Linked DNA regions of Homo sapiens: all the other regions are linked to region 4. Evidence: promoter capture Hi-C in 16 types of primary human blood cells and fetal thymus (Javierre and others, 2016). All regions are on one chromosome and are shown on one strand. The core of a region is centred on a gene start or on the middle of the fragment in contact, and the rest is flanking DNA. Distances in the headings are between cores, read along the strand shown.

The links. Contacts are between HindIII fragments. The CHiCAGO score rates a contact against its expected background, and 5 or more counts as called.
Region 1: a contact is called between the fragment with the promoter of ATG9A here and the fragment with the promoter of ARPC2 in region 4, in 5 of 17 cell types (total CD4 T cells, non-activated CD4 T cells, total B cells and 2 more). The highest score is 9.8, in total CD4 T cells.
Region 2: a fragment that was not itself captured here is called in contact with the fragment with the promoter of ARPC2 in region 4 in 1 of 17 cell types (total CD8 T cells); the score reaches 5.4 in total CD8 T cells.
Region 3: the fragment with the promoter of SMARCAL1 here is called in contact with the fragment with the promoter of ARPC2 in region 4 in 1 of 17 cell types (neutrophils); the score reaches 5.0 in neutrophils.

Annotation. Positions count from the first base shown.
Region 1 is chr2:219,228,202-219,231,317 of GRCh38, forward strand. ATG9A (autophagy related 9A) reads right to left here and starts at 1,435. Exons shown (of 16, transcript NM_001077198.3): 1 at 1,334-1,435; 2 at 233-284. ANKZF1 (ankyrin repeat and zinc finger peptidyl tRNA hydrolase 1) reads left to right here and starts at 1,605. Exons shown (of 14, transcript NM_018089.3): 1 at 1,605-1,699; 2 at 2,027-2,204. The coding sequence starts at 2,057. RefSeq lists enhancers at 375-923, 924-1,471, 1,472-2,019, 1,690-1,799 and silencers at 1,150-1,199, 1,410-1,539. The HindIII fragment of the contact is 5,267 bases long and covers 1-3,116 here.
Region 2 is chr2:219,247,831-219,250,700 of GRCh38, forward strand. STK16 (serine/threonine kinase 16) reads left to right here. Exons shown (of 8, transcript NM_001330213.2): 7 at 363-484; 8 at 591-2,507. The coding sequence ends at 729. TUBA4A (tubulin alpha 4a) reads right to left here. Exons shown (of 4, transcript NM_006000.3): 4 at 1,880-2,870. The coding sequence ends at 2,522. Among named protein-coding and RNA genes, the nearest start is that of STK16, 3.8 kb to the left of the region's middle. RefSeq lists enhancers at 2,153-2,242, 2,283-2,402. The HindIII fragment of the contact is 383 bases long and covers 1,419-1,801 here.
Region 3 is chr2:216,411,216-216,414,315 of GRCh38, forward strand. It overlaps SMARCAL1 (SNF2 related chromatin remodeling annealing helicase 1), which reads left to right and starts at 1,269. Exons shown (of 18, transcript NM_014140.4): 1 at 1,269-1,433; 2 at 2,641-2,677. It overlaps SMARCAL1-AS1 (SMARCAL1 antisense RNA 1), which reads right to left and starts at 1,285. Exons shown (of 5, transcript XR_001739881.1): 1 at 1,210-1,285. RefSeq lists enhancers at 1,031-1,325, 1,069-1,158, 1,289-1,378. The HindIII fragment of the contact is 8,553 bases long and covers 1-3,100 here.
Region 4 is chr2:218,215,479-218,218,705 of GRCh38, forward strand. It overlaps ARPC2 (actin related protein 2/3 complex subunit 2), which reads left to right and starts at 1,711. Exons shown (of 11, transcript NM_152862.3): 1 at 1,711-1,776; 2 at 1,985-2,066. The coding sequence starts at 1,993. It overlaps LOC101928487 (a long non-coding RNA gene), which reads right to left and starts at 1,708. Exons shown (of 2, transcript XR_923908.2): 1 at 1,550-1,708; 2 at 623-1,373. RefSeq lists an enhancer at 1,720-2,323 and a silencer at 1,845-1,894. The HindIII fragment of the contact is 6,430 bases long and covers 496-3,227 here.

The DNA.
Region 1 (3,116 bases), core at 185-2,684, 1.0 Mb after region 4:
AAGGCAGTAAGCTCAGGGCTGGGGGAGCCTTAACTCTGGCCAGTCTGGGTGTCTACTGCTGCTTTCCTGGCCCAAAGCCAGAATCTGTCCCTTTGTTGGGGGCTGTTTCATCTTCTATTTAACGGACAGAAGAGTCCCTCCCCCGCCCATCCTGGGAACCCTGGTCTCCCAAGAGACTAACAGTTTGGAAGCACTTCACAAACAAATGTTTGAGAAAAGCACATGGCCCTACCAGCTCCATGGACAGTATGTGCTCCTCTCCAGCCCTCGATGCTCTGCAGCTGCTGGAGGAGAAGATGTCAGGCCCCAGAGAGTGGGCAGTGGGGATAAAAAGGAACCCAACCCTCCCAGCCATCCACACCCCACCAAGAGGAGGCCAAGCATGGGGCAGGAAGGCTGCAGTGGGGAAGAAGCACCCTTCCAGCCCAGGACTACGAGCACTTCCTCTGGCTGTGCTAAACCGGGCCACTCTTCCAACTCCAGGGTCTCAAGAAGTAACTTAGGGACCCCATGGAGAATGAGTGGGTACAGACCTGAGGCCAGGGGCGCCTCTGGACTATTTCTCCATTGCCCTACCTTAGCCTCAGAAATGACATACTTCTCAGGGTCCACAAAACCTCAAGAGTCTTTCCTGAAGAGGACCTTTCTGGTCAACCCCTTCTCTTACTTCCCTAGCACCAAAGATCCAGCCGGTGAGCAAACCTTCTGGATGGGAAACCTTGACTGGGTCAGTGTAGACCCCCGATCCTAGGTGAATTTGTGGGTTCCCTAGGTCCTGTAAGCCAGGCATGGTCGAGGTGGTACTCACCTGTCCGTGCAGCCCCTGGGGGCCGTGGATCTTGGCCCAGCCTGGCCCCGGTGGGATTCCCTGGGCTAGTGAGAGCCCTGCCCCTCAGGGAAGTCACCACTCACAGGGTCAGTGTGGACCAGGGCCCGTGGAGCCCCGGCCGGCTGGGCCTGGGCTCAGGGGTTCCTGCGGATGTTGCAGGGATCGAGTCAGCCTTACAGCTGATAGCCCGGGTGGGTTGGCTTGCCTCCCCACACCCAGCCGCGGCGACCGTGGACCGGAGTCCACCTCGCCCCAGGGTCGCCCGGCCCCAGGCCAAGGGCTGGCAGCTCCCAACAGCGGACAACCTCGCGCGCGGCCCCGGCGCCCGCGCGCGCCCCCGTCTGCGCGCGCCAGCAATCAAAACATTCCGGCTGCGCGCCCCCGCCCCGCCGGCGGCGCCCCTTCCTCCGTTACCCGCCGCGAGCTCACTTAGGGCTCCGCAGGCACCCCTGGGCAAGGCCAGACACGGGGCCTGGGATTCCAATAACCGGTCTCACGTCTTACCTCAGGAACAGCGACCCGGGTGATTCCAGAGGCTCCGCCGGCTCCGCTCGGCTCGGCTCGGCTCGGCGCGACCCGCGGCGCTAGGCCGGGTGTCTGCCACTCACTGTCACCCGCAGCCAGGCTGGCCAATAAGCACGGGGGGCGGAGACACAACGGCCAATTCTCGGCTTCAGGGACGGGACTAAAGTCTCGAGGCGGGTCTTGGACAGTCAGCGGCCCAATAGTGTGCTCTACGTGGGGCGGGGCTCAGGTGCGGACGCCGCCGGTTGTCCTCTTCGCTGCTCCGTAGTGACGGGGATTGTTGTGTTGCAGAAATCCGGCAATCGACCTGAGGACTTGCGAGCCGCTCAGCTCCCGGGACGTTTGGTGCGTCTTCTAAGGGCGTGGGCGAGTTTACGCGGGCCAGTTGTTGCTGGTCGCATGGGTAACGAAGAAAGTTCGGCTAGGCAAGCTCAGTGATTTTTAACTCTGTTGGACTCGATTTGGGAGCCGAATGCCTATTTCATTCTTTTGTGGGCTGAGACTGGGGGTTTGAGAAAGTGGACGGGGGCCAAGGTATTCATCTCACAGTTGGTAGCAGGATGAGAGACGAGAAGTCTTGCGGTGCAGGAGAAACCAAGTCAGGCAGGCAGGAGACGCAGCAGTAGGATCTCGTTTGCAGGAGCCCTGTTTCTTACACGCTTTCTACTCCAGGAGCTGCTGCTAAATAATTTCTGCTCAGCCATGTCGCCGGCTCCAGATGCAGCCCCGGCTCCTGCGTCGATCTCCCTGTTTGACCTCAGCGCGGATGCTCCGGTCTTTCAGGGCCTGAGCCTGGTGAGCCACGCGCCTGGGGAGGCTCTGGCCCGGGCTCCGCGTACTTCCTGTTCAGGTATCCTGGAAGGTTTCGTGTGAAACGTGACAGGGCTCCTTACAGCGTATTGCCCGTTCAGGGAACACATTCTTATTGGTATTCCCGAGCTTAGGAGGCCAATTGATTTATCTTTCTGCTTGATTAAATTCACTTAATCTCTGGGTAATGTCCAGCACAGCCCTTGTTTTCAAACAAGTCTTTTTGCCATTGCATGTATCTCCTCACGTTAACACCATTCCCTTCAAAAACACTTTAAACTTTGTAGAGATAAAATTCTCAGATGTATTCCACATTTAACCAGGCCCCACTCAAATTATTCCTTTTTGCTGAATATGAAACAATTTATTATTTGTTTCGTATAGCTTTATTTTTTGAGAGTCTCGCTCTGTCGCCCAGGCTAAAGTGCAGTGGCACGATCTCCACCCACTGCAATCTCCGTCTCCCGGGTTCAAGTGATTCTCCTGCCTCAGCCTCCCGAGTAGCTGGGACTACAGGCCCGCACCACCATGCCCGGCTAATTATTGTATTTTTAGTAGAGACGGGGTTTCACCATGTTGGCCAGGCTGGTCTCAAACTCCTGGCCTCAAGTGATCCGCCTGGGTCAGCCTCCCAAAGTGCTGAGATTACAGGCATGAGCCACCGTGTCGGTCCTGTTTTGTGTAACTTTAGTTTGGCTACATCTTTTCTTGCACCTCTCCTTAGACAAACTGTACACTAATTGGAAATGTAAACTTTAAAAAGCATTTGGGAAGTAGTTTTTGTGCAGTGAAAAATAATTTTAAACTGAACAGAAATTATTTTCTTTAGGATTCACCTAAACAATCTGTTTGGCTAATTTAAATTAGACAAGACTCAAACTCAGCCAGTGGGGAGGACTTGCAGACGCTGGATCTCGGGAGAGGGCTACGTTGGAGAAGTTTAACCGACCCC
Region 2 (2,870 bases), core at 360-2,859, 1.0 Mb after region 4:
GTTGGTTTCTGTTGCATGGGGCGCCAGGAACCACAATATGTCCCCATCCACTTCAACTTCCTTCCTGGGAAATGTCACTGATACTGTACCCAGTTGTACCGGATGTGGTATAATCTGTGCCCCTGAACAAGGTGAGTACAGCTCAGTGTCAGTAGTGAAGGCACTGGCTAAGCAGGGGCTAAGCTAAACAGGGGCTGCGGAGGCCTCCAGCTGACTGGCAGTTTCTCTGGACCCTGGTGGTGCCATGTGGCTGAGGTCAGCGTATTCTTTTTAGCTTATGGAGTCTCCTTTTACCACAGAAGTAAAGGGAGAGATGTCACCTCCACTGGTCCCCTTCTAGGGACTAATCAAGTTATGCTCAGTCCCTAGGCTGCGTGCTATATGCCATGATGTTTGGGGAAGGCCCTTATGACATGGTGTTCCAAAAGGGTGACAGTGTGGCCCTTGCTGTGCAGAACCAACTCAGCATCCCACAAAGCCCCAGGTGAGTGAGCAACGAATAGGGCATCAAGTGTTTCAGACTCCCCCCTGGTATTAGCTGAGTTGACAGATAGGTGTCATCCGGTCACCCTGGGCTCCTCCCTCCACAGGCATTCTTCAGCATTGCGGCAGCTCCTGAACTCGATGATGACCGTGGACCCGCATCAGCGTCCTCACATTCCTCTCCTCCTCAGTCAGCTGGAGGCGCTTCAGCCCCCAGCTCCTGGCCAACATACTACCCAAATCTGAAAAAGCAGCATGTTGAGAAGATGGCCCCTTGTGCCTTGGAAAGAGGTTCCCATCCCTCATTGGAATCACCACCCATTCCATCCAGGACTTCTCTTACACTTGGGGGTAGCGGGGTCAGGACAATCATCTCAGTCCTGCATCTTTTCTTCTGCTTTCTTCCCTCCAAGAGCAAAACCTGGGCAAGGGGACTTACTGAGTGGGGGTGGGTGGGGGTTGGGAAAAGGGAAACTGGTGGGATATGGAACATGGCTCTGAGCAGGACTGTTGAGCTCACATAGTGTTCTGACTCCAAATCTGGGAGCAGGAGAATGTGTAAACAAGAATAAAGTGGAAGCAGGTTGGTGTAGATCTTAGTCTCAGTGTTCCTGGAGTGAGAGAAGAGGTGCAAGGGGCCCAAAGTCAGGTTGCCATTTCAGGCGAACTGCCTGGGAAGGAGGAATGGTGCAGAGTCGGCAATGGTGTGACTTCATTCTACAGGAGGTTGGTTAGCAGTGGACAGTTCTAGCTTGTCTTAGATCAAAACTTAAAGCTGCTTGGGCTCAAGCTGGCATCTGCCTGTGTCAAGAACTAGGGCCCCCTAAAAACACTCAACTAGTTCTTTCCTTCCTTCACTCCTGGGGTGAGTAGCTTAGTCAAAGCTGCCTAGCCGGTTTGCTAGGCAAGGGCCTCTGGGTGGAGACACCTGAGGAAGCTTTGAGACAGGTAGATTACAGGTCTCCCATCCTCAGCCTAGGGGCGAGGGGAGTGGAGGTGGCAGCGGCAGCTGTTTTGGCCTGTGTCTCCCTGATCGTTCAAGCTCATACATGGTTAATGATTAATGAGGCAGTGTGGTGTGGCAGTATCCAGCTGCCACTTCCTGCCTACTCTGCTGAGTAAACAGGGGCCCTGTCTTAGCTGGGCTTCAAACCTGTTCCCTAGGGAAGGGCTCTGTTCCCTGAATCACCAGGGAGGAAAGGCAAGGGCAGGGTTGGCATCTCCTGCTCTTTTGTGATCCAAGCCTCCTCCCCCGAACCATGTCTACCCCACAGTATGACATCAGCATGGGGCCTGGGGCTCCTGTTAGCAAAGTTGAAGCTTTCCCCAGGGCCCTAGCAGGAGTCTCCCACTAGCTAGCACAGAGGCTGAGGCCAGAAAGAAATCACAAACAGAGGGGAGATGACCTGACTTTTAATGGCACAGCCCCAGCTCCAGCAAAGCAGCAAGACAGGAAGCTATGCAAAGCTGCTCAGAGGTGCAGTGGCACAAACAACTCTAGGAGATCGCCTGTGTTCCCTCCCATCCCCCAAGCTTATGACGTGGCTCCATGCCCAGGAACTCTGGGCCAGCCCAGCCCCACTCCCAAACCCTCATAATGCACAGAGGAGCCTGGGCCAAGCCTTGCTTCCAGAGTTGGTAAATGTAGAGGCAGCAGGAAGAACAGGGTAGCAGTCTAACTTTCAAAGACAGAAACCACTGGATTATACTCCTACTTGGAAAGGAGCTGAAGACTCATCCTTCAACAGTTTGTGCCTGGATTTTGGTCCTCATTTCCTCCCTATACTGAGTAACCCTAGGACTTCAATTTAAAGTCCCTGGGGTTATGCTTCCTGGGCCTGGCAAGAACCCCTTTGCAGGTCTCACCTTCAGCGATGGAAGGGATAAGGGTCATGAACAGCAAACAGAGCAGCAGCAGCATGAAGGGGAAGGCAGCAGAAGCTCAAGCACTCAGAGGGAACAAGAAACCGTGCAAGGAAACTGTTTATTTCGAAAGGATTTTGCAATAAACATAGTGAATAGGCTCCAGGCAGCTGCTTTATTCTTCTCCCTCATCCTCGTCCTCATAGGAGTCGATGCCCACCTCCTCATAATCCTTCTCCAGGGCAGCCATATCCTCACGGGCCTCGGAGAACTCACCCTCCTCCATGCCCTCACCCACATACCAGTGCACAAACGCCCTCTTGGCATACATCAGGTCGAACTTGTGGTCCAGGCGGGCCCAGGCCTCGGCGATGGCGGTCGTGTTGCTCAGCATGCACACGGCACGCTGCACCTTGGCCAGGTCACCCCCAGGCACCACAGTGGGAGGCTGGTAGTTGATACCAACCTTGAAGCCTGTGGGGCACCAGTCCACAAACTGAATGCTGCGCTTGGTCTTGATGGCG
Region 3 (3,100 bases), core at 19-2,518, 1.8 Mb before region 4:
AAACTCTGTCTCTACTAAAATTACTAAAATCAGCCAGGCATGGCGGCATGCACCCATAATCCCAGCTATTTGGGAGGCTGAGGCAGGAGAATCATTTGAACCCAGGAGTCAGAGGCTGAAGTGAGCCAAGATTACACCACCACACTCAGTCTAGGCAACAGAGTGAGACTCTGTCTCAAAAAAAAAAAAAAAAAAAAAAAAAAAAAAAAAAAGGAAGGAAGGAAGAAGGGAGATTATTTATTGTTTCAAAAGTCACACAAATTCTACATTATTATTTTAGAAAATTCAAATCATTCTGAAAAATAGAGATTAAAAAGCTGAAAAGTGTATTTCATGCCACTCTGCTCCTGAACAGTTTGGTGACTTTTTAAGTTTCCTTCCCAGACCTTTATGAGTTTACATACATGTACAGGTAAGGATGAAAAAAAAAAAAATCAAACTACACACATTGCTGTGCTTCCTTTTTCTTAGCATGTCTGGTCCATTTTTTCAAATCCTTTAGTAGACTTGTTTGTTTTTAAATGAGCCATGTTTGAAAATAGAACAATAGCAACATTCATATGCACACTGATAGAGAAATGTTATATTTATCACCAATGGTGCTCAGGATGGCTCAGGATGTTGGTGCTCAGGATGGGGTAAAGTGACTCTTTAAGTCTCATGACTAATCTTCTCTCAAGAGGAGGGGCTATGGAATCAGAATCACAAGCTAGCTTAATAAAGCCTTGAGAAATATTATCAAATAGCTGTCTTAGTTTCCCCCTCTGTAAAAGGGGGACAAGAATGTGTTCCATAGGTTGTAGTGCGGTTAAATGAGGTAACTCATATTTATGCTAAACACAATGACTGATGACTACAATGATGACGATGATGGCAGCCGGGCGCAGCGGGTGGGGCTTAAATGGCAAGTATAGCAATACCAGGAATGGATGCCCCGGGGAGATACTTTTTATTAAGAGCTGCCAAGTTAGTATGGCTGTCTGGGATGTCCTCTGGAGACAGCCGACTCCGGGTTTGGAAACCTCAACGTCCTAGGCTTTCAGGACCTAGTGTTTGGCTAAACCTCTGGAGAACTACAACTTCCAGGGTGCACCACTTTCGCCCCGCCCATGACGTTGCAGCTCCCGTTTCTCGCCAGGCTCCCGGCCCGAACTACAAATCCCAGAAGACACTGCAGCCCCGCTCGCGTTCTCGTCTCATCATTCTTACTTTTGGAAGCGAAACTGCGGCCGCGTTGCCTGCTGGGAAATGTAGTTCAGCGGTGGCCTAGCCCTTCAGGCCTGGCCGCTACAATAAGGCTGGCGAACTCGCAGCGCTTGAATACCCGTGGCCTAACCGTCCACTCGGAAGACCGGTCCCGCTCGGGAGGCTCTGCAGTCGCGCCTGGGGTCAGGGCCGGGGGCGAATGTGGCTCGCGTTCTAGGCCTCCCTGGGTGAGAAAGTGGTAGACTGGCAGGAAGGCGGCGGAGGCGGACGAGACCAATGCCAGCCTGGAGGAGGAAGTGGGCCAATGGGAAGGGTGAATCCAAGTGGAGATCGTAGGGGTGGGAGTGGGGCGTGGCGCCCGCTTACCTTGAGGCTGGGTGAGGCTCGCCCCGAAATGCGGGGCGTGGGGGGCGGGGGGCAGAGGTCCCTGCCTAGAGGGGAAGAGGGGCGTCCATGTGGCGGAATGGATTTATGGTTTGGGGCTGATCAGTGGGTCTTATGGCCGAGTCTCTCTGGTTAGTGGAGACAGCTTACCAGGCCTGGGATCTGGGGAGTTTGGAGGTGCAGGAGATCCCTGGTTGGAAACTTAGGCAGGAGTGTGTTACCCAGAGAGACTGAGGGCTTCTGCTGTGCACCTCCAAAACCTTTTCCTAACCTCTTCACCCCTTCCTAACTGCTAATGGTTGGAGAAGGTGGAAGTTCTCTGGGGATAGATACTTCGTGGTGGGGGAGGGGGGAGGGGGGTTGGGTTCTGGCCAAAGGGAGCCCCAGCAGGGAAGGAAGGCTTTGAACCCTATAGCTGCCCAGAGGCCTAAGCAATGCTACTGGAGTACCCCTACATCATCATTGTAACCGTTACACAGCATTACATTAGATGCAGCCTATTTAGTCTGAACCAAGCCAGACAAATTGGTGTGTCCTGCCCGCTGCTTCTAAAATATTGTAAACATGTCTCAGCTCATAGGAAAATAAATGTTCCGGGTAAATTCATGGAAAAAAATAATCAGGGTGCAATATGGAATGTTTACAATGATCCTACTTTATAATAAATTCTTATATCTCCTAAATATGTGCCATTTTGTTATGGATGAAAAAAAATCCGAACTATATACTCTAAATTATTAATTTCAACTGTGGTTATTGATGGCTGGTAAGATTACAGAGTAATTTTATTCTTTTTTGTTTACATCTTTATGTAGCATCTTAATTTGCACAGTGAACACATAATTTTTTTTTTTCTGCTCCTTATTTTCCCAGGAGAGTCAGTCAGTTGCTCCGTGTGTTGTGTTGGAAGTCAGGTCCTAAGGCCAGCTGCTCTGGCTTGCACTGAGCCACAGGCAGACTGATTTGCCAGGAATGATAAAAAGGGGTGAATGTGAGGGGAGAATTCAGTGTGCAGGCTATGGGAGGCTAATGCTTTTTTCCTTCTTCTAGGTTGGAAAAAGACTATGTTAGCAAGTGTCACGCCATGGTATGTGGTTGGTTGGTCTATTTCAGTCTAATCTATTATGCTTTCTGGTTAAAAATGTCACCTTTCTCATTATCTGATGGATTTACGTTGCAATGCATAACTTTCTTAGGTTCTGATAACTCACCTTGGCTGGGCCATGTGAGTTATCAGAAGAGTTACTCACCATTTTGGCAGTGCTTCGAACCATTGAGTTACCATGTGAGTTACCATGTGAGAAGGAGAGAAATATTGCCTCTGAAATGCCTTTTTAGCTTTGGATTTGCTTTTTGCTTTTTTTTTTTTCTTTGAGAGTTTTGTTCTTGTTGCCCAGGCTGGAGTGCGGTGGCACGATCTTGGCTTACTGCAACCTCTGCCTCCCAGGTTCAAGCAATTCTCCTGCCTCAGCCTCCCAAGTAGCTGGGATTACAGGCGTGCACCACCACG
Region 4 (3,227 bases), core at 461-2,960:
GCTTGGTGGTGCATGTCTATAGTCCCAGCTATTTGGCAGGCCGAGGCAGGAGGATCACCTGAGCTCGGGAGGCGGGCAGTGAGCAGAGATAGCAACGTCACTCCAGCTTGGGTGACAAGAGTGAGACACCATCTCAAATTAAAAAAAAAAAAAAAAAAAGGCCGGGCATGGTGGCTCACGCCTGTAATCCCAGCACTTTGGGAGGTCGAGGCAGGAGGATCATGATGTCAGGAGTTCGAGACCAGCCTGACCAACATAGTGAAACCCCGTCTCTACTAAAAATACAAAACATTAAAAGGGCATGGTGGCAGGCACCTTTAATCCCAGCTATTTGGGAGGCTGAGGCAGGAGAATCGCTTGAACCGGGGAGGCAGAGGTTGCAGTGAGCCGAGATCATGCCATTGCACTCCAGCCTGGGCAAGAGTGCAAGACTCTGTCTCAAAAAAAAAAAAATTTAAGTTAGCGTATAATTTTAGGGGATCAGCAATATCCTGAAGCTTATCCATAGCCCGTTAAGTAATGTTTCAAAGGGCTATCTGTGCCTTAATGATAGGAGCTAGTTTCTTGTTCATTTTTTTATCCCCATCCCCAAACACATAGCAGAAAATAAATTATTTCCTTGTATGTAGAACGGACTCAGCTAAGTTTATTATATTCTCCCCGGAGGAGGGAAAACACAAAACAAGGCACAAAGGCAGAAGGTGCAGATGTAGCACAACGATGAGTTAAGATTCCGCACGCAGGTAACAAGGAGGGTATGGTATATCTCTGCCAGAGGTACTGGAAGGTTTCAAAGGCAGAAAAAAATGTGTTCCGGACACCTGGACGCAGAATTGGAGGCATGACAGGAACACAGGGAGGCCCATCTAAGTTGCCTATTCACCCAGGTGACCTCTCTTTCATTTCTTTAATTGTCCTTTTAACAATATGGGGAATTTCACCCAAGGAAAGGGTCCTCTTCTCGCCCCAGCAGGCAAGGGGTGTTCCTCCAGCGCAAGTTCCGGCCCCAGCTGCCCCCACGTCCCACAGGTCTCCTGCCTTTTGGCACGCACACTCCTGACCACTCGCTGCTTCCGCATCCCTACTCTGATCCTCTCCCCATGCATCTCTGCCTCCTTAGACAACTGAGAATTTTATTGTCTGTTTCCTTTGCCAGACTGTAAGTTCCACGAGGGCAGGGCCTCGTCCATTTCATTTACCACTACATCCCCAGTATAGAGCAAGAGCCCATGAAAATGTTTGTTGGAGAAATGAATGCATGATGGTGTCGCTGGACAGCTATACCTGGAAAGAAAAAGAGGCACCCCCATCAAACAAGCTGGGAGCTAAGAAGCCCGCTGGGAGACGACAAGGGCGAGCTTCTTGCGAGGTTTCTGAAATGACAAGACCGGAAGAATGGAGTTGGATCTCTGGGACAAGCGGGAGAGAGAAGCTGAACAGTCAGGCAAGCCTCGGGGAATGACAGCTCCGCGGGGGACGCACTGGTAGGCGGTAGACGTAAGCGGGGTCGGTGGGAAAGTAGACGGTGGGGCGGCGGCATCACACATACGCAAGCGCAGCCTCCGTTTCCTCCGGCGCGCCTGCGCTCGCGTTCACGAGTGGTTGAAGCGGAAATGGCGCCGCGGGGCCGCGCGTCCAGGCGGCGAGCGGAAGTGGGTGTGAGAGCGGAAGTGGCCGGCTAGAGCCGGGGGCTGGGCGGGGACCGGGCTTGTCGGTGAAGCGGCAGTGGCGGCGGCGGCGGCGGCTCGGCAGGCGGGTTCAGGCTTCGGGGGCCAGGTCGGTTGGGTGGGTGGGTGTCTCCACAGTCTGCGTGCGTGGGCCAGCGCGTTCGTCTTACCCTTCCCTCCACCCCGGCCCCTCTCCCCTTCTCCCCTAACCTCCTACCCCACCCAGCCCCACTCAGGGGGCAGCAGGGCCGCTCCCTCCGTCCTTGCCTCCCTTACCCACCCTCACCGGCCCTTGTTTCTCCTTCCCCTGGGGGCAGCCGCCGCCATGATCCTGCTGGAGGTGAACAACCGCATCATCGAGGAGACGCTCGCGCTCAAGTTCGAGAACGCGGCCGCCGGGTGAGCGCGCGCCCGGGGCCGGGGGTGGCGGGGGAAGCAGAGTTGACCCCAGCTAATCCCCAATGTTGTCCAGTCCCCCAGACCTGGAGGAGAGAAATGGGGTGCCTGGCAGGGTGTAGGGGCTGCCCCAGCGGGGTAGACGTGGGAGGCGATTGGGCGCGGCCGGGCGAGGGGCAGAGATGCGTGGGGAGAGGCTCAGAGGAGGGATGCGGAAGCAGCGAGTGGTGAGGGCTGTGCGTGCCAAAGGGCAGGAGACCTGTGGGACGTGGGGGACCCTGGAGCCGGAACTCGCTCCGGAGTAGCCCCCTGCCCTCTGGGGCGAGAAGGGGACCCCTTCCCTGCGTGAAATTCCCCGGCATTGTTCTGAACCCAGAGAGAGCCTGTTTGGAATTGGGTTGGAAGGAGTTTTCAGGAATTCCCAGGACTGGAGGAGGGAAGGAGATGCAGGCCCACATCGCCACCAGCATTCTCGTTCCCCACCCCCATCTCCTTTAAAAGGAGCAGAAGAGAAGACTAAAAGCCGACCCAGTCTTAGAGCCGGAAAAACGCGATCTCTGGTTTCCCTTCCCCGAACCCTTCTGTGAGAGACACTGGGCCATTTTGTTACATATTTTTAAAGCAAAGCCAATTGTCCCTCGCTCCACACCCCTTCCTTATCTCTCCTTTGAGGTTCTAATGCTCTCTCCTCACCCACTAGCCTTTATCTGGTTATCTTGTAAATTCTTACATCAAGACCCTAGGTCTGTGATTTCTTCTGTGGTAGCCCTGGCCCAGTTACACACTTCAAAGACTCCAGAATCTATAAAGTTCTTAGATAACCTGTCTTTACGATTGGACTTTTTAAAAGATGGGCTTAGGGCATCTTTCCAAGGCAGCCTCTCTGCCAAACACAAGAATCAGTAGAAGACAATCTGCTCCTCCAAAGCTGCTTTGCTTTTCTAGTATAATATTTAAAACATGAGCTAAGGATTTTGGGTTCTAATTTTTGGTGGCCTGTGGCCAGTCCCTTTGCCTCATTTCCCTATGTATGAGCATGGGGCTTCACATCTGGGTTTCACAGTTAATAAGTGCAGACCGTTTCTGGTGAACTGGGAACTAGTAATAGGAAAGTGCTTGCAGATCCACAGATGGGAGAAGATTGGTAGAGGGGAATTTTTAAGT